5 separate regions of the Homo sapiens genome follow, and all the other regions are linked to region 5. Evidence: promoter capture Hi-C in 16 types of primary human blood cells and fetal thymus (Javierre and others, 2016). All regions are on one chromosome and are shown on one strand. The core of a region is centred on a gene start or on the middle of the fragment in contact, and the rest is flanking DNA. Distances in the headings are between cores, read along the strand shown. Region 1 overlaps ATP6V0A1 (ATPase H+ transporting V0 subunit a1). Region 2 overlaps ACLY (ATP citrate lyase). Region 3 holds the start of COASY (Coenzyme A synthase). Region 4 overlaps ATP6V0A1 (ATPase H+ transporting V0 subunit a1). Region 5 holds the start of RAB5C (RAB5C, member RAS oncogene family).

The links. The method cuts DNA at HindIII sites, captures the fragments that hold promoters and counts their contacts. A CHiCAGO score of 5 or more calls a contact.
Region 1: a contact is called between a fragment that was not itself captured here and the fragment with the promoter of RAB5C in region 5, in 2 of 17 cell types (fetal thymus and endothelial precursors). The highest score is 5.6, in fetal thymus.
Region 2: a contact is called between a fragment that was not itself captured here and the fragment with the promoter of RAB5C in region 5, in 2 of 17 cell types (erythroblasts and monocytes). The highest score is 5.6, in erythroblasts.
Region 3: a contact is called between the fragment with the promoter of COASY here and the fragment with the promoter of RAB5C in region 5, in 2 of 17 cell types (neutrophils and naive CD4 T cells). The highest score is 7.4, in neutrophils.
Region 4: a fragment that was not itself captured here is called in contact with the fragment with the promoter of RAB5C in region 5 in 1 of 17 cell types (activated CD4 T cells); the score reaches 5.9 in activated CD4 T cells.

The regions. Positions count from the first base shown.
Region 1 is chr17:42,518,510-42,521,840 of GRCh38, forward strand. ATP6V0A1 (ATPase H+ transporting V0 subunit a1) reads left to right here. Exons shown (of 22, transcript NM_001130021.3): 22 at 2,518-3,331. The coding sequence ends at 2,611. Among named protein-coding and RNA genes, the nearest start is that of MIR5010, 6.0 kb to the left of the region's middle. The HindIII fragment of the contact is 921 bases long and covers 1,546-2,466 here.
Region 2 is chr17:41,867,562-41,871,354 of GRCh38, forward strand. ACLY (ATP citrate lyase) reads right to left here. Exons shown (of 29, transcript NM_001096.3): 26 at 1,913-2,026; 27 at 1,482-1,564; 28 at 1,148-1,224; 29 at 1-343. The coding sequence ends at 249. Among named protein-coding and RNA genes, the nearest start is that of KLHL11, 4.0 kb to the left of the region's middle. The HindIII fragment of the contact is 3,639 bases long and covers 62-3,700 here.
Region 3 is chr17:42,560,031-42,563,863 of GRCh38, forward strand. COASY (Coenzyme A synthase) reads left to right here and starts at 2,118. Exons shown (of 9, transcript NM_025233.7): 1 at 2,118-3,292. The coding sequence starts at 2,593. RefSeq lists enhancers at 2,194-2,443, 2,454-2,643. The HindIII fragment of the contact is 14,901 bases long and covers 1-3,833 here.
Region 4 is chr17:42,497,879-42,501,601 of GRCh38, forward strand. ATP6V0A1 (ATPase H+ transporting V0 subunit a1) reads left to right here. Exons shown (of 22, transcript NM_001130021.3): 15 at 1,046-1,164; 16 at 2,829-3,045; 17 at 3,319-3,426. Among named protein-coding and RNA genes, the nearest start is that of MIR548AT, 5.0 kb to the left of the region's middle. The HindIII fragment of the contact is 9,207 bases long and covers 1-3,723 here.
Region 5 is chr17:42,152,619-42,156,325 of GRCh38, forward strand. It overlaps RAB5C (RAB5C, member RAS oncogene family), which reads right to left and starts at 2,371. Exons shown (of 6, transcript NM_004583.4): 1 at 2,275-2,371. RAB5C-AS1 (RAB5C antisense RNA 1) reads left to right here and starts at 1,782. Exons shown (of 3, transcript NR_187282.1): 1 at 1,782-2,091; 2 at 2,381-2,490; 3 at 3,150-3,707. RefSeq lists enhancers at 1,823-2,443, 2,353-2,647, 2,530-2,639. The HindIII fragment of the contact is 7,588 bases long and covers 1,108-3,707 here.

The sequences.
Region 1 (3,331 bases), core at 756-3,255, 370 kb after region 5:
AGAATTGTCTTTCCAGACTGCCTGCCCTCAGTCACAACCCCCACCAGGGAAGGGAAGCGGCCCCAAGACTCCTTCCTCCTTCACCCACTCGAGGAAACAGAGTTCCTGTTACGTGGCATGAATGATGTCTTTTGGCCCCAGTTAATCCCTCTGAGTCACCAGGTGGCCTTTGCCAAGTGCTGGAGCTGGAAGAGATGATAGAGACACTCATCTGGCGTCCTGAGGCTCTCCTCACAGCTGTTGAATTCTAGAGGTGCATTTCAGTGTCTTGGGGCATGGCAAGACTTTGGAGGCTCCCTGAGCAGAGCAGTGGAGATGCCCAAAAAGAAGGAAGAACCTAGGATGGCAGATGGGGCCCCCCTTGCCCTGGGGAACTTCATGTTTGTACTTTCTCAGGAAGCACACATTTCCCCAGTTCAGCGGGAGAGAGTGGGGAGACTAGCAGGGAAATTGCTTTCCAGCTTTGTGCTGGGTGGTTGGGGTGAGGGTGGCCACGGAAGGAGGTGAAATCAGGCTGACCTCAAGATAGACCCAAGATGTCCCAGTTCTGGCCGCTCTAAGTCTCTAAAGCAGCAGCTGGTGGGAGGGGCAGTATTGGGCAGTATGTCAGGGAGGCCACCTGTCTGCTCACACAGTACAATTGATGTGCCCCTCCCAGGCATATATCCCTCTTCCTCCTTGCTGGGCCCCCATGGGTAGATAAGGTGACTGGAGGGGTGCCAAGAAAAGGGCGGTGCCCCCACAGGCATCTGAAAACAAAGCTGCTGCTCCATTTGCCCAGTTTGAAGATTAGAATGGTTTTGTGATTAGCCAGGAGGGGGTGGGGGTCAGAGTTCTGGACACCTCACTGGAGTCGGGGGTCAGCATACCCTACCAAGGCTGACATTCACTCCTAGGTAATGGCCTGGGACCCTCAGGTGACTTGTCCACTCTCTGGCTATGTATTGTTGAATGAAAAGGGGACATGTAAATCTCGTTTCAGCTGTTCTGAAATAACCCTTGCCACATGGGAACACAGTCTATTCAACATGAAGAATTCAAACCTAACACAAGTGGGTGAGAAGCAGGAACCCACTGCTAGGCCCCACCGCGTTCCCTCAGAGGTGGTCTCAGTAGCTGGAACTTGGAGAAGTAGTTTTGGTGGGGTGTTGGGACGTGGGTGAATCCAGGTCCTGGTTTGGAATTGCTCTGGTGGGAACCGTCAGCTAACGTCAGTTGGAAGCTCTGTGTCCTCCCCCTCCTGAGTCCTGTTTTTCCTGGAGGACCTTGGCCCACCCCTGTGGAATGTGGGGATGTGGGGAAGAAAGCTGACTGCTTTTACTCCCACTCAGAAAATTCGGTTGCGCTCTTCTTCAAGGGGGTGCTCCTCAGCCTGCACCCCAGTGAAGGGGCCTCTGAGGAACTCCCAGTGCCACTGGCAAACAGTCTGTAACCTTTGGGCCCCAGCCACCTCCCAGCCCCTGTTCTCTTAATTCCTGCCTTCTTGGCTTGGAGGGAGGAATCTCCATTTGTAAAAGCTGAGTTAGGGAACTAGAGGGTTCCTGAAGCTTTAAAGCGCCTCAAAGCCCTCACCCTGCACGTGACCTGTCACCTGGAGCCTGCCCCAGCCCCCACGCCTGCCTGTTCTTATAGGGGCTCCGGTGCCTCCAGGGTCACACAGCACCATGTGGAAACTATTCCTCAGGGCAGCTCTCCTTGGCCTTTTTATCCCCTGAATCATGCATTTTTCTGCCCTTATTTGGTGTGGTTTGGTTGCTGGGCAGCTGTCCAGGGTGAGTTTGCAGGAGGAAGCACAGCCAAGCAGCCTCGCTCTGCTTATGGGACAGTCTTCCTCCCACCCTCCCTGAGAGTGAAAGGGCCCCACAGAGACCATCAGGCATGGATGCTGAACTGCTGGGAAGGGAGCTCAGGCTTTTTCTTTTTAGTCCCCAAGAGAAGAATTCTTTCTCAGATGTTTTTGTGGTTGGAGAATATTTTTGCCATTGCTTTGAGAAGACTTCCCCTCCTAACTCCCCCTCTTTCCTTGGAATTTCCTTCCTTAAATGGAAAGCCTTCAACATTCACTCCAAGCTCGCCCTTTTGCTCCCCCAAGGAAAAATAACAAGCAAACAGAGGTGCTTGCCCAGTGTCTCTGGAGGGGCTTCCCTTAGAGGTGGGCTGTGTGATCCCCTGCCAGGAGGGGGCGATGGGGGCCACTTGTTCATTAACGATGTTAGGCTCAAGGTAACTGAACTTTTTTTGCACATGCCTCTCTGCAGAGAGTTGTGCATAAACACACTGCTCGGCAGGACAGAGCAAGATTGGGAACTGAGGGCAAATCCCTTCCTCCGTGCGTCGAACTCTTGATCCCAGGCCTTAAAAGTGGGATCTCTGCACTCTGGGCTTTCTCTAGCTTCCCCAGGGAAGGGAGGCTCGGGGTGAGGTGGGCACGGGGCATCTTTCCTGCCCAACTGTGAAGTCCTAAAAAGCTTCACAAAGTTTCTATTGAATGACAGCTTTCTTCTTCTCTTTCTCCAGGGTTGAGTTCCAGAATAAATTCTACAGCGGGACCGGTTTCAAGTTCTTACCCTTCTCCTTCGAGCATATTCGGGAAGGGAAGTTTGAAGAGTGAGTCCCTGTGAGGGCCGTGTGCCCCATGCTACCCTCCCCGCCTCCCTCCACAGTGATCAGCTGTGCCTCTCTGCCTGTTGGTTGTGATCTGTGGGCACCAGCTCATTCGTGTCACCCTGTCTGTGAGTCATTTAGATAGAATAGTCCTCCTTGGGTCTCCCACCACCCCTAGCTTTGTGTGTAGTGTAGTGATTTTCTGGCTGTCACTCATACTCACTGGGCACCAGCCTTGCCCTCTTAGCCTCCATCCATCCAGACAGCCCTTCCCACCTCCTGGTGGTGAGCCAGTCTGCATTCCCACGCCATCCCAAAGCCCTTTCATCTTCCCCGTGCATTGTAGATGGAAGGAGCACCCATGCCATTCACATCTAGACTTTGAGTTCCCTGCATCTGCCACCGTAGTTTCTAGCAGGAGTAGTGGGGGGAGTAATACAGATTCTTCCCTAGAAGGGGACACTGGTAACATGTCCCACTCTTGGATTAGCAGGGGTGGGTCCAGGAAGATGATATTTGCGTCTTTTGCCCACCCCCCTGGCATTCAGCTGGACCCAACTAGGCCATCATGAGTGGCTTCTCCCTGTCATCCCCAGGGGTCATAGGATATCTACACCGCCTTTCTGACCCCACCCTGCACTCCCATCCTTTCCTCTCTCCCCGTTCATGCCCTGCACTACATAGCACAGCCGGGATGCTTGGAACAGAGGCCTTGGCTGCTCCGCAG
Region 2 (3,793 bases), core at 631-3,130, 290 kb before region 5:
GCAGAGCAAAGTCACAAATATTGGCTTGGTTTTTATTTCTATGCTTATAAAAAAAATATGAAGCTTCTTTGTGTGGACTGAAGGGGTGTTAGCCTGTGGATGTTGGTCTTCGGTGCCTGTACCCCAGTGGCTGTTTACATTCCAGGCCCCTGCTAAATAAAGCAGGCTCCACTGCCAGCTGTCTGTACACTTTTTCTTGGGGGAAGAGATCTTGTCTTCAGTTTACTGCAGTAGGGTTCCTGGCTCTGTTACATGCTCATGTGTTCCGGAAGAACATATGAAATATCATCCCACGGATGACGATACAGCCCCTGCTTCAGCCTCTTCTGATCAAGATAGTGTCCTAAAATGAAGCAAACACATCTTTTTTATTAGAGCTTCATAAGCCTGGTGAGAGGAAGAGGCTAAGGAAGGGAAATCTTTCTAACACACAAAAAAAGTAGACACAAAGCAGTGGGAAGTTTAGTCCAAATCCACTGTATAGGTAGATGAGGCGGACTTTGTACAAGGGAGCTGCTGGATCTGATTCTATTTTCCTTTAAATTAAAACAAAATTTTAAAGGGAAAAAATAAAATAAAATAAATAATAAAAATAGGCCGGGCACGGTGGTTCACGCCTGTAATCCCAGCACTTTGGGAGGCCGAGGTGGGCAGATCACGAGGTTGGGAGATCGAGACCATCCTGGCTAACATGGTGAAACCCCGTCTCTACTAAAAATACAAAAAATTAGCCAGGCGTGGTGGCATGCGCCTGTAGTCCCAGCTGCTTGGGAGGCTGAGGCAGGAGAATCGCTTGAACCCGGGAGGCAGAGGTTGCAGTGAGCTGAGACCGCGCCACTGCACTCCAGCCTGGTGACAGAGCAAGACTCAGTCTCAAAAAAAAAAAAAAAAATTTTCCTGGGCTAGCAATCATTTCTAAGAACAAAGGAACAATGATAAAGATAAGGGGAAAGGTTAAAGTAAGAAAGGAAAGATTAAGAACAATGATTAAGAGGATATGACATTTCTTCTGTAGAAACTGAACCACAAAAAGAAAATTAAAAAAAAAAAAAAAGAAAGAAAAAGAAACTCAACCCCATGAGTAAGTGGTGTAGCTGAACCGTGGGGTTTAAAAAAAAACACTTAAAACAACAACGAATGGACTCACCAATGAACCCCATACTCCTTCCCAGCACAAAGATGCCATTGAGGGCTCCAATGTCAATATATTCATCAGCTTCCTCCCTGCAACACACATCAACTTGTAGTTTTAAAAGGCTCACGTGACTGCCCTCCTCCCCACAGACAGTACTACTACTGCCCAAGAATGAGAAGAAAAGGGGTGCTCTGGGTGGTAGCATTACAGGCAATTTTTGTTTTCTTCTTTATACCTCTCCTTATTTTTCAAATATTCTATTATGAGTATGCATTACTTTTATAGTTTGGAGGAAACAACAAAAATCAACAAACGTAATGAAGAAGAAAACAGCTACAATGCTCACCGAGTAAAGGACCCACAGTTTCTAAGCATGTCTACAAATGCGACTCCGATGAGACCATCTACATTCAGGATAAGATTTGGCTTCTGGGAAGGCAAAAAAATTCAAAGCATTTATCATTATTTCTCATTTTTTCTTCATAATTTTCCACTGTCACTACTATTACTACGAATTGTGACCATCATTTAAAAACCTTCTACCAGCCCCACTGGTCGACACTGTGTCTGACTCAGTTCAATTCCCAGCATCTAGCAAAGTACCCAACACCTAGTTGACATTTAGTGCATGTCTGTTAAATTTAGTTATGAAACAAAAATAACATTTCTAGAAAACTAGGTTTGCTTTTAGCTGCATAATCAAAATGTAACGTGGCTCCTGTTTCCTCCAATAAACTTGTCCAACGTGAGGGAATTAGGAAGTTTTTTCTTTGTTACCTTCGAGGTGGTAATCTTCTCTACTTCCAGTGCATAATCGAGCAGAGGAGTGGCAGGGAAGTGCTGCCTGACGTAATCTTTGAGGATCTGCACTCGCATGTCTGGGTTGTTTATCTAGAAATGAACCCAACGGTACAGAGGAACACTCACACACTGCTGGGATGTGTTTGTTCATACTTGTGTTACAGGTAGGTAGAACTGGACATATCCCAGCGGCGATTCAGGAACCTGGCCCACGTGTACCATTCCATGTGGCACCAATTGTGCTAATGCCATGAGGCTGGCTTTTGAAGTCCTCTCATATCTCAATTGGGACACAAAACAACCTTGGTAGGTTCTCACTTTTAAGTTGCAAAGAAGAAACTGAGCCCTGAGATGTTCAGGGAACTGGCCAGGTCCTACAGTGTTGAGCAGCAGAGGTCTGAAAGTTAACCACTCTCCAACTCAAGAGTCTTAGGTTCCAGCCTCCAGCCATGCCCCCGCCAGCTCTGTGCCTACTCAAGCTGTGACAAAGTTCAACACTAAACAAACACGTGTTTAGTGTGGGGAGGCAAAGTATTCCCAAAATTTTAGGGAAAACTCTAGACCTGCTGTGAATGAAATTAACCACCTGTCAGTTGGGGAGGAAGATGATCTAGGGACATACCAAATCGAATACCAAAGCAACTTCAGCCCTCAGCAAAAGAGATAGCTGGGTCAGTACATCCTCTAGAAAGCGGGGAGCTCAAAGAGTGAATGAGTGAGTGTGGAGTGCAAGTCTAGCATTATCTTAGAAAGAGGCTCTGTGCTGTACATAGGCATGTTGTTATATGCTCAGGAGCTGGGGCTGGCTGAGCAAAGTCAAGCAAGTCCTGGATGGAATGTCCCTCAGAGCCACCCACCTTCCCTGCTTGGTTCTGAGCTGGTCCTTGCTCATCAAGCAACCTCTGGGTATCACCTGAGATGGCCAAGTGTTTGGCTGCCTAGAAGGTGGTGTCCTGAATCACATGCATGACCTTCATGTTAATACTCCCCACCTAGGCCAGTGGAGTGACCAAATAAATGAGGTTGCTGGAGCTACAGAGCCAAGGAGCCCAGGGTAAAGGGATCTGCTAAGGAGCTGTCCCCATAAGGCCCTGAGCAGCTGCCAGTGACCTCATCTCTTGCTCTTTGGTTTCTAACCAAAGCACAATATAAGGACATAGAAATGACCGGCCCTGTGTGAGACTATATAAACTGTTTCAAATATTTACTGTCCTTTCCCACTGGTCTCTCCCAATCAGATATGCCTTGATATTGTCACTCTTCCTGCCCCAGTGATGTCACAAATAACCACTTGACTTGCGGTGGCCAATGAAATGTGAGTGAAGGTGAATCATGTAAGGCTTTAAGAGCCTGCACGTGGTCCTGCCATTGCTGTTATCCTGCTGACGTGAGGCCAGCACATCCCAGACGGCGGCTGTTCTTTCGGCACAGATGGCAGAGAACAGGCACAGCAAACCCTCAGTGGATGTAGTGTGAATGAGACATAAACCTTTGCTGTGGTAAGCCACTGAGATTTTTGGAGTTGTCTGTTACTGCGGAATGAGGTATTATCTAGCCGAAGGTGACCAATATGTCCCCTCAACCTGACCTTGGCCCTTTTACCCATAAGATTCATTTGGGAAACCAAAGTTACCAAGTTTTCCATCTCATTTCAACTGCTATTTCCATACTGCAAGCGAACGACAGAAAAACTGTTAAGGGCAATCTGTATTATAACATGGAAAAAATAGCTGCTTTGTATTTGGCATCTGTCAACACATCCAAAGCTTTGTATGTTGGAGTTGAAAGCTTAGGTATTCTCCCAAATAAATTAATGCCCCCACTATCACCACCCACCCAGTAGATCCATCCCACTTT
Region 3 (3,833 bases), core at 868-3,367, 410 kb after region 5:
CAGTGGCGTGATCTCGGCTCATTGCAATCTCTGCCTCCCAGGTTCAAGCGATTCTCCTGCCTCAGCCTCCTGAGTAGCTGGAATCACAAGTACCGCCACCACACCCAGCTAATTTTTTGTATTTTTAGTAGAGACGGGGTTTCACTATGTTGGCCAGGCTAGTCTTGAACTCCTGACCTCAGGTGATCTGCCTGCCTCAGCTTCCCAAAGTGCTGGGATTACAGGCGTGAGCCACCGCGCCTGGCCATGTATTATAGATTTATTTATGGTGGCATGATTCCTGTCTGCAACCCCAAGACACACAGTACTCTATACCCCAGGATGGCAGGGACATTGTTTTGTTCACTGGTCCATCCCTGTGGGAGGCAGTAAAATACACATTTACTCAATAAAAATGACTCTGTATGTGGTGTGTCAGACTGTGTGTCCAGATGTCTTGGGACATTCTCTGGCAGCCTTTGCTGTTTGTGTCTTCAAATCAGACCCTATCTTTAAATCTAACATGTCTCCTGTGAGAAGCCTGGTCCCTTAATACCTTTGTGGCTCTACAACTCTTCCCTCCTTGACTGTATCTCTTCCTCCAGGTCTTTGCTGTTTTCCTGAATCACCTTATCTAAAATAGCATCTCCTTTTCTCCATCATAAGCCCAGGTTTTGTGGGGCTGGGGGCTTATTTGCTTTTGGAGACCGTCTTCAAGAATACAAAAGATAAACACAAAATTACATATAAAAGTGAGTTTTGTTTTTTTTTTTAAGTTTCGGATACCACGGCACATTACTGGAATCTTGGAGACTGGCTTCTCTCCCTTTTGATCTCCATGCACAACTTACCTGAGATGTATTCTAATAGCAACCTGGCTTCCCCTCCACACTCAGCCTTTCAAGCGCCCATTAGCTTCGCAGTAAATCTCCCACACTAGGTATCCAGCCTTTGCCTTTTTCTTTTTTCTTTTTTTTTTTCCAGAGGGAGTTTCGCTTTTTTTTTTTTTTTTTTTTTTTTGAGACGGAGTCTCACTCTGTCACCCAGGCTGGAGTGTAGTGGTGCGATCTCGGCTCACTGCAAGCTCTTCCTCCCGGGTTCACGCCATTCTCCTGCCTCAGCCTCCCGAGTAGCTGGGACTACAGGCGTCTGCCACCATGCCCGGCTAATTTTTTTTTGTATTTTTAGTAGAGACGGGGTTTCACCGTGTTAGCCAGGATGGTCTCGATCTCCTGACCTCGTGATCCGCCCGCCTCGGCCTCCCAAAGTGCTGGGATTACAGGCGTCAGCCACCGCGCCCGGCCGGGAGTTTCGCTCTTGTTGCCCAGGTTGGAGTGCAATGGCACAATCTTGGCTCACCGCGACCTCCGCCCACGGGTTCAGGCGATTCTCCTGCCTCAGCCTCCTGAGTAGCTGGGATTACAGCCATGCGCCACCACGCTCGTCTAATTTTGTATTTTTAGTAGAGACAAGGTTTCTCCATATTGGTCAGGTTGGTCTCGAACTCCCGACCTCAGATGCTCTGCCCACCTCGGCATCCCAAAGTGCTGGGATTACAGGCGTGAGCCACCGCGCCCAATCAGCCTTTGCCTTTTTCTCCTGTCCACAGAGACCCCGCAAACAAGCGCATCAGAGGATCTGGGTGGTGCGAGAGCCTCCTACAGCAGCCAGGTACACACAAGGCCTCAGTTTTTCCATCTGTGAAATGGGTACGTGGACAGACCTGTCCAGTAGCCTCCCATGTGAGAATCCTCGGACTGAGAGGGTACTAGGAGGGCTAATACAGCGCAGCCCTGTGATTCCCCACCTCTGTCCCTGGAATGAAGGAAATCTGGGTGTTAGTTCTGGCTTTGCCGATGCCTCTTGGGTGGCCTGGCTGAAACTAATCTCTCCTCATCAGGCCAGAAGGGAATCTGTGAAATGGGCTTTGAAACCTGCCTTGCCTTTCTCCGCCCGGTCCCAGCGGGGGTCCGATCGGCATCAAGGCTTCACCCACTCCCAGAGCCTTCGGGATCAGCCCCACCCCATCAGCAGGACACAGCCCATGCCACTGGAAATCTCGCGAGAATCCCGCGCTGAAGCGAAGTCGAGACGTTTGACCTTCCTCCGTTTCCGTAGTTCCGAGTTGCGGTTTCTCCGTTAGTGCTTCCGGGTTGCAGCCAGGGAAGCCTCCGCGGTGGTGCAAGTGGAACCCAAGCCTTGAGGTTTCAGTGAGTAGGGGGCCGACGTGAGCTTTAGCGTCCCCCTTTAGCCTCCCTCTTCGATTCCTTGAAGACCCTGGTGCAGCTTAGCAAGAGGGCCCAGGATTTTTGGATCCCCAGCCCTGTGACAAGGGTTCCTGTCCAGTTTCCCCCTCCCAGGATTTCGACTCAGTTCAGCGAAGTCACCGCCCCGTCTGAGAAATGAGGACACCAAGGCTTAGAGCACAGCCCCGAGGCGCCGTCTACCAGGCCCCGTCCCCTCCCCCGGCTCCTGTCGGTCAGCACTGAAACCCCGTCCCTGCTCCAGGCCTCCTTCTCTGGGGTCCAAGGTCCCATACAGGCCTCTGCCTCGGCCGCAGGCCCTTCAGTCACCGTCGCCTCGTCTCCCTGACTGTCCGCAGGCCTGGGCAGCATGGCCGTATTCCGGTCGGGTCTCCTGGTGCTGACGACGCCGCTGGCCTCCCTAGCCCCTCGCCTGGCCTCCATCCTGACCTCGGCGGCCCGGCTGGTGAATCACACACTCTATGTTCACCTGCAGCCGGGCATGAGCCTGGAGGGCCCGGCTCAGCCCCAGTCCAGCCCCGTGCAGGCCACGTTTGAGGTTCTTGATTTCATCACGCACCTCTATGCTGGCGCCGACGTCCACAGGCACTTGGACGTCAGAATCCTACTGACCAATATCCGAACCAAGAGCACCTTTCTCCCTCCCCTGCCCACCTCAGTCCAGAATCTCGCCCACCCGCCAGAAGTCGTGTTGACAGATTTCCAGACCCTGGATGGAAGCCAGTACAACCCGGTCAAACAGCAGCTAGTGCGTTACGCCACCAGCTGTTACAGCTGTTGTCCGCGACTGGCCTCGGTGCTGCTATACTCCGATTATGGGATAGGAGAAGTGCCCGTGGAGCCCCTGGATGTCCCCTTACCCTCCACGATCAGGCCAGCTTCCCCCGTGGCCGGGTCTCCAAAGCAGCCGGTGCGTGGCTACTACCGTGGCGCTGTCGGTGGCACGTTTGACCGCCTGCACAACGCCCACAAGGTGTTGCTCAGTGTCGCGTGCATCCTGGCCCAGGAGCAGCTTGTGGTGGGAGTAGCAGACAAAGATCTGTTGAAGAGTGAGTAAGAGGGACCCTGGACTAGGGTGGAGGATCCCCAAATCTCCCCACCCCCGACCCTTATGCCGAGATCAAGGAAGGGTAGGGCCATTCATTACTTCCCACCCTTCCCAAATGTCACAGTGGTTGACACTCAATTGGTGCTAAGGCCATTTTGTCAAATGAACAGCTTTCTCAGCATGTGGTCCAGTCACCACTCAATCAGAATACCCCAAATGTGAAGCAAAGGGATCTGCATTTTAGCAAGTTTTCCAGGTGATACACCCTAATGAGACACTGGGAATGAATGGGTGAGTGAGCTGCAGGTAGCAGTGCCACAGACAGGAGGAGGAAACTCAAGCATGGCATGGGTCTTGGAATTTTCCATCTGCCTCTGATGCCCTCTGGCACTGCTCGTTCTCTGGAGTGGTTTCCTGGTGGCTTATTCTCTGGACACATGCCAGCCCTTGGAGTGACTATTGTGCTTGCCTGTTTCTTCACCTTCATGCTCCCCTCACCATCACCATAGGCCTTACCAGTTGAACCCTTTCTGCCACCCCCT
Region 4 (3,723 bases), core at 692-3,191, 340 kb after region 5:
CCGAGATTTCACCACTGCACTCCAGCCTGGGTGACAGAGCGAGAGTTCATCTCAAAAAAAAAAGAAAAAAAAAAAAAGCCTTACTGGCCGGGCGCAGTGACTCAAGCCTGTAATCCAAGCAGTTTGGGAGGCCGAGGCAAGCCTCAGGCCAGACCTGAGGTCAGGAGTTTGAGACCAGCCTGGCCAACATGGTGAAACCCCATCTCTACTAAAAATACAAAATTAGCTGGGCATCGTGGCCTGTGCCTGTAATCCCAGCTACCTGGGAGGCTGAGGCAAGGCAGGAGGTGGAAGTTGCAGTCAGCGAGATCATGAACACTGCACTCCATCCTGGGCAAAAAGAGCGAAATTCCATCTCAATAAATAAATAAATAAATAAATAAGTCTTTTCCTTTTAGACATCCACACTGAAATATTTACAGGTAAAATGACATGATATCTGGACTTTTTAGTAATGTGGAGATGAGTGAGTGGCAGTAATCTTTTTTCATGACTATAAGGTGATGTTAATTTTTGAAGCATTCTCCTCAAAAGCAAGATTAAAAAAAAAAATTTTGTCGAAGCAGAGTGATAGGTGCCTGGGAGTTTGTTGTACCATCCTGTCTGCTTAAGTATCTGTTTAGAATTTTCCATAATAAATAATATTGATTAATAAATAAAAATTGTCGACCGGGCGCGGTGGCTCACGCCTGTAATCCCAGCACTTTGGGAGGCTGAGGCGGGCGAATCACGAGGTCATGAATCGAGACCATCCTGGCTAACACGGTGAAACCCTGTCTCTACTAAAAATACAAAAAAATAGCTGGGCGTGGTGGCAGGCACCTGTAGTCCCAGCTACTTGGGAGGCTGAGGCAGGAGAATGGCGTGAACCCGGAAGGCAGAGCTTGCAGTGAGCTGAGATCACGCCACTGCACTCCAGCCTGGGTGACAGAGCGAGACTCGTCTCTAAATAAATAAATAAATAAAAATTGTTTTTTAAACAGAGGAATATTTTTCCCTTTGAGAATTCTTTATAATACCTATTTGTTTTCTCGGGTTATGACAGATTTGGAACATTGCTACCAATAAACTGACGTTCTTGAACTCCTTTAAGATGAAGATGTCTGTTATCCTTGGTATCATCCATATGCTGTTTGGAGTCAGCCTGAGTCTGTTCAACCATATGTGAGTTGTTCCATTTCTGTCATAAGAATGTGCATAGTTTAGAGAATGCTTTTGTGTAAAGAAATCATGACATCTTTGGGGAGGGATTAATAACTCAGAACCTCATTCTACATTATAGAAGTGCTTTTCTAAAAATTTAATGGTGTGGCCAGGCGCGGTGGATCATGCCTGTAATCCCAGTACTTTGGGAGGCCAAGGCCGGTGGATCACCTGAGGTCAGGAGTTCGAAACCAGCCTGGCCAACACGATGAAACCCCGTCTCTACTAAAAATACAAAAATCAGCCAGGTGTAGTGGCACGCGCCTATATTCCCAGCTATTCGGGAGGCTGAGGCAGGAGAATTGCTTGAACCTGGGAGGCAGAGGTCGCAGTGAGACAAGATGGCACCACTGCACTCCAGCCTGAGCGACAGAGTGAGACTCTGCCTCAAAAAAAATAAATAAATAAATAAATTTCATGGTCTGGCCGGGTGCAGTGGCTTACACTTGTAATCCAGCACTTTGGGAAGATGAGGCGGGCAGATCACTTGAGGTCAGGAGTTCAAGACCAGCCTGGCCCACATGGTGAAACTCCGTCTCTACTAAAAATACAAAAAATTAGCCGGGTGTGGTGGCGTGCACCTGTAATCCCAGCTACTCTGGTGGCTGAGGCAGGAGAATTGCTTGAACCCAGGAGGCAGAGGTTGCAGTAAACCAAGATAACACCACTGCACTCCAGTCGGGGTGACAGAGCAAGACTCCATCTCAAAAAAAAAAAAAATGTTGATGGTCTTAAATTAGACTTAATATTAGTCCTTTAACAATTTACTGTTCCAGTAAAGATCCTTGAAAAAAACTTGAGCAATTTTCATCAAAATAAGTGAGGTCTCTTTTTTTCCTTGATGTGCAACTCACATAAAATTATTAGCTGTGGACTGGGTGTGGGGGCTCACACCTGTAATGCCAGCACTTTGGGAGGCCAAGGCAGGCGGATCACTTGAGCCCAAGAGTTCAAGACAAGCCTGGGTAACACGGCAAAAGACCCCATCTCTACAAAAAAAAAAAAAAAAAAAAGTTATGAACTGTGGTCTCAAAATGTACTAGATTTTTCCATTCTCTTTCTCATGGAGAGAATGGTGGGGATGGTATTGGAGCCGTTCAAGGTTCAAAAGTTTAAGGCCTGGCACAATGGCTCACATCTGTCATCCTGCACTTTGGGAGGCCAAGGCGGGCAGATCACCTGATGTCAGGAGTTCAAGACCAGTCTGGGCAACATGGCAAAACCCCATCTCTACAAAAAAATGTAAAAATTAGCTGGGTGTGGTGGCGCATGCCTGTAGTCCCAGCTACTCGAGAGGCTGAGGTAAGAGGATTGCCTAAGCCCAGGGAGGTTAAGACTGCGGTGAGCCAATATTGCACCACTGTACTCCAGGCTGGGTAGCAGAGTGAGACCCTGTCTCAAAAAAGAAAAAGCAACAGCAAAACAAAACCAAGGTTCAAAAGTTTGACCGTGATAGTTAATCCTGCATTGTCTCTGTTGTCTCCAGCTTCTGGTTGCTGCTGCTTAAAGTGATAAAGACAGAATTGAGGGGGTATTAAGTAGAAAAATCTAGTGAATACTCCATTCAGTGTAGGAGTGGCCCTAGGCCCATTTACCCTTAACATTTTTTTCTCTCTCCTTTTTAGCTATTTCAAGAAGCCCCTGAATATCTACTTTGGATTTATTCCTGAAATAATCTTCATGACCTCTTTGTTTGGCTATTTGGTTATCCTTATTTTTTACAAGTGGACGGCCTATGATGCTCATACCTCTGAGAATGCACCAAGCCTTCTGATCCATTTCATAAACATGTTCCTCTTTTCCTACCCAGAGTCTGGTTATTCAATGTTGTATTCTGGACAGGTACGTCAGCCCAGAGGCAGACTGTCTGAGATGATTATACTTGATCAGGAAGCCAGATGTTTCTCTGACCCTAAAAAATTTATAACTGCCCTTCTATGGGACAATTCTAGGGCTTTGCCACAAAATGTGATAATTATTTTGAGAAATTGGATAGTGTTATTCATAGATTAGTAAGAAAGTACTGTTGGGGGAAATTTGTGCCATATTTGGAAACTGCGTATGTGATCGGTAGACTTTTATATGATGTACCTTGTCCTTCTTCTTACTCTGCAGAAAGGAATTCAGTGTTTCCTGGTAGTGGTTGCACTACTGTGTGTACCTTGGATGCTGCTGTTTAAACCATTGGTCCTTCGCCGTCAGTATTTGAGGAGAAAGCATTTGGTAGGTGTATTTCTATTGCTAAAAGTTACTAGACTTTTGTTTTGTTCAAGATCAAGGCAATTCCCCAGTGGATATAATTAATTGTGCACAAATCTATATATTCTTTTTCTTTTTCTTTTTCTTTTTTTGAGACGGAGTCTCGCTCTGTCCCCCAGGCTGGGGTGCAGTGGTACGATCTTGGCTCACTGCAACCTCCACCTCCCAGGTTCAAGCAATTCTTTTGCCTCAGCCTCCTGTGTCACTGGGATTATAGGTGTACGCCACCACACCTGGCTAATTCTTGTATTTTTAGTAGAG
Region 5 (3,707 bases), core at 1,121-3,620:
AAATACAAAAATTAGCTGGGCGTGGTGGTGCATGGCTGTAATCTCAGCTACTCAGGAGGCTGAGGCAGGAGAATCCCTTGATCTCGGGAGGCAGAGGCTGCAGTGAGCCAAGATTGTGCCACTGCACTCCAGCCTGGGTGACAAAACAAGGCTCTGTCTCCAAAAAAAAAAAAAAAGTCGTTTCAGAGTCAGAGCTGGGAGAGCATGTCCAGACAAAGAAAAGAAGGTCTCCTCAGAAGGCTGGTCGGCCTCATCCCAGCACTCCTGAAGAGTGACAAACTGCGGTCTACTCCTGAAGACCTAAGTCTGGTCAGAGACCAATGGCCAGTGAGCAGTCAGGCCTCTCTGGCCCTGCCCCTCAGATGCCCAGGCTGACCAGATCAGAGAAACTAGGTTGGTTGAAGAAGTCTCCAATGAACCCCAAAGGAACCCACACAGATACAGAGCCTGTGATCCAGCTGTTGACCCTAATAAGGAAGGCTTCTTCTGTTGTCCGATAAAAAGTGAAATAAGTAGGCCGGGCACGGTGGTTCACACCTGTAATCTCAGCACTTTGGGAGGCTGAGGCGGGTGGATCACCTGAAGTCAGGAGTTCGAGACCAGCCCGGCCAACATGGCGAAACCCCATCTCTACTAAAAATACAAAAATTAGCCGGGTGTGGTGGCAGGCGCCTGTTAATCCCAGCTACTCAGGAGGCTGAGGCAAGAGAACTGCTTGAACCCAGGAGGCAGAGGTTGCAGTGAGCCAAGATCACGCCACTGCACTCCAGCCTGGGCGACAGAGCAAGACTCCATCTCAAAAACAAACAAACAAAAAAGTGAAGAAAGTACATCCTAGCTCTACTCAAAAGACTGTAGGAATCAGATACTAGCCACTGTCCAGAAGCCCTCAAACACACCTCAAGGCCAAAAAACACAGCACTTTTAAGTGGCAAGCGAGGGTGGTAAAGGTAGCCCAGAACACTGAAGAGCTACAGAAGTTCCCACAAACTGCACGGCTTTCCGTCCCTTCCTCCACTGTAGATAGCAAGGGTCAGTCATGGCCTCAGAGCCAGGCTACTCCTCGTTAAGGTACAGTCTCCGGCCTGTACTTTGGCCACATAACAAAGCTTGGTCTGAGACAGCAGCTATTTCACACACCTAAGCCCCAAGCAACAGACAAGGATCAGTCAATATGGTTGAGGGAACCTGCACTTTCTGGCATGTATCGGAATTCCTCAGGCTACAATTAAAAATCCAGAACTGCCATTGTGATCTTGACTTAGTCCTCAGTAATAAGTCCAAGCCCTGAAGGGATTGCAGACAGACCCTGGCGTGGTGTGGACCTGTTGCTCAGGGAGGTGTATGTGTGTGTGTTTGGGAGTGGGAAAGAGATGGCCCTTCAATTCCAGACTCCTCATTTTGGGTCTTATTCTCCTCCCTATAGACACACGGACAGCAGTCCCAAGAAAAGCAGTCCCTTTGAGGCGGCTGGGAAACCACTCACGTGCTCTGGGAGGACAGAGCTGAGCCTGGAGCAAGGGGGGAGGGGAAAGAAGATAATGAATGGGCACATCCACCCTGATCTGTGATCTGTAGCTAGGATTGAGCAAACCTCAGCTAAATTCTTCAGAGGCAGAAAGAGAGAGACACTCAAAGAACAACATAACTAGAGGACAGGGCTGGGAGACAGAAGGGGCAAAACAGGAAAACAGCTCATTTCTAGTAAGTGACTTTAAACTCAGCTGAGGTCCTGGTTGGTTCTCTGGCTTGAGGAAAGAGAGGAAGTAAGGAGTTGCGGGAGCGCACACACACTTCTGTGCGTGTGGAACGGTCTCACCCAGACGACCCCCCTCCCCCAAAGGAAATCGAGATATTCCTCTAGGGCTAGAGGGGACAACTGGTTTTGTGGGACAGGAGGAAGGAAAACGGCGACAGACAGCACTCCCTGTCACTTCTAAAAGAGAAGAGGGACAGGTTCCTTCACACCTAGCAAAGATCCTCCGATTCTGGAAGCAGGGGGAGCGGAACTTAGGGTACCTCTCTCCCACAACTAGAATGGACAGGCCAGAGGACAGTCATAGCGGTTTCCTTAAGGCTCACCAAAGGCAGGTAAGCTAAGGAAAGAAGCTCCCCACCTCCTATGGCCCGACGCCTGGGGAGCCCCTCAAGAGGGGGCTACGGGTCGGGGGAGGGGTCAGTATCCCCCTAAACTGGGGCTGGGCGGGAGGAAGGGCTGCCCTGGAGATGCTTCAACGCAGGCGAGACACCAGGTCCTGGGACAAGCATACTCACGGCGGCTCCGGGGCGGCGGCGTTACTTGGGGCCGGGGCTCGGACGGGATCCGCTTCTCTCCCCGCCGGCGGTGTCCCAGGCTCCGGCCTCCACTTCCGCCTTTCAGCCGCTCCGGATCCGGATCTCCACCTCCGCCCCGCCCCTCAATACTCCCAGGTGATTGACAGTGCGGAGACCAATGGGAGGCACTCTTGGCCGACCTACCCAGCGGCGCCGGTAGGAACGCGGGAGTGGCGGTAGGGAGCGCGCGAGGGATCGCGGGACTTGTAGTTCGCAGCGCTGGGAGGAGTCAGTGGCTGCCTGGGACTTGGGCTTAGGGTGGAGCCGGCTGACTGCGAGGCGGAGCCCGGCCGGAACTTTTTTTTTTTTTTTGAGACGGAGTCTTACTCTGTCGCCCAGGCTGGAGTGCAGTGGTGCGATCTCACTGCAACCTCTGCCTCCCGGGTTCAAGCGATTCTCCTGCCTCAGCCTCCCGAGGAGCTGGATTATAGGCACGCACCACCACGCCCGACTAATTTTTGTATTTTTTAGTAGAGACGGGGGTTTCGCCATGTTGGCCAGGCTGGTCTCGAACTCCTGACCTCAGGTGATCCGCCCTCTTCGGCCTCTCAAAGTGCTGAGATTACAGGCCTGAGCCACCGCGCCCAGCCTACGGCCGGGAACTTTTTAAGGCTAACCCTGCCATCCGCGTCACCGCCGGTTCCGGACGCCCCGAGGGAAGGCGGGTGGTGGAGCGTTGGAAGAAGGCAGAGGATTGTGTGTGCAGAATTGGGAAAGAAAAAACGTGGTGCGAATGAATATGCACGCGAGGCCTCAGTCCTGTGAACTCGCTGATCTGGAGAAGCCCTTGTCTGCACTGTCCGCCCGATTGCCAGGGGCGTCTGTGATTGGGAAGGTGAGGAAAGCGCTGCAGGAAGAGTTCTCTGCAGGATGCTGGGTGAGATCAAAGGGAGAGCTTCTGCCACCACCTCCTACTTGGTGTGTGCGGGGGCCGGCACAAAGACCATCTCTGCCTCTGCCTTCCCCTGCTCCTAGCCAGGGTCAGCTCTTCTCTCTGACGCGGAATACAGAGCTGGACAACCTCTGCCTCGGCCCTCTCCATCCGTAAATAAAGACTAGAACCACCCCCACTCTGCACTCTCCCCCTCTATGGATCAGGAATATTTGTTTTTTCTGCTCCTCTCAATATGGACTGGGCCCGCTCCTGATTCCTCCCACCCTTACCTCTCAACACAAACCAGTACCTCCTCTTCTTTTGCATCTCATCCTCAAGGGACACTACTGAAAACCTGTGTGGAATCAAAGCTCACCGGAGACAGCTGTGGCCATTGTGCCTATAACGCCAACACCAGGCATATCCTGGAGCCTCAGCTGGAGAATTTACCTGTCTTGGACAACCTGCCACAAAACTGTGCCCACATCTAGTTCCATCT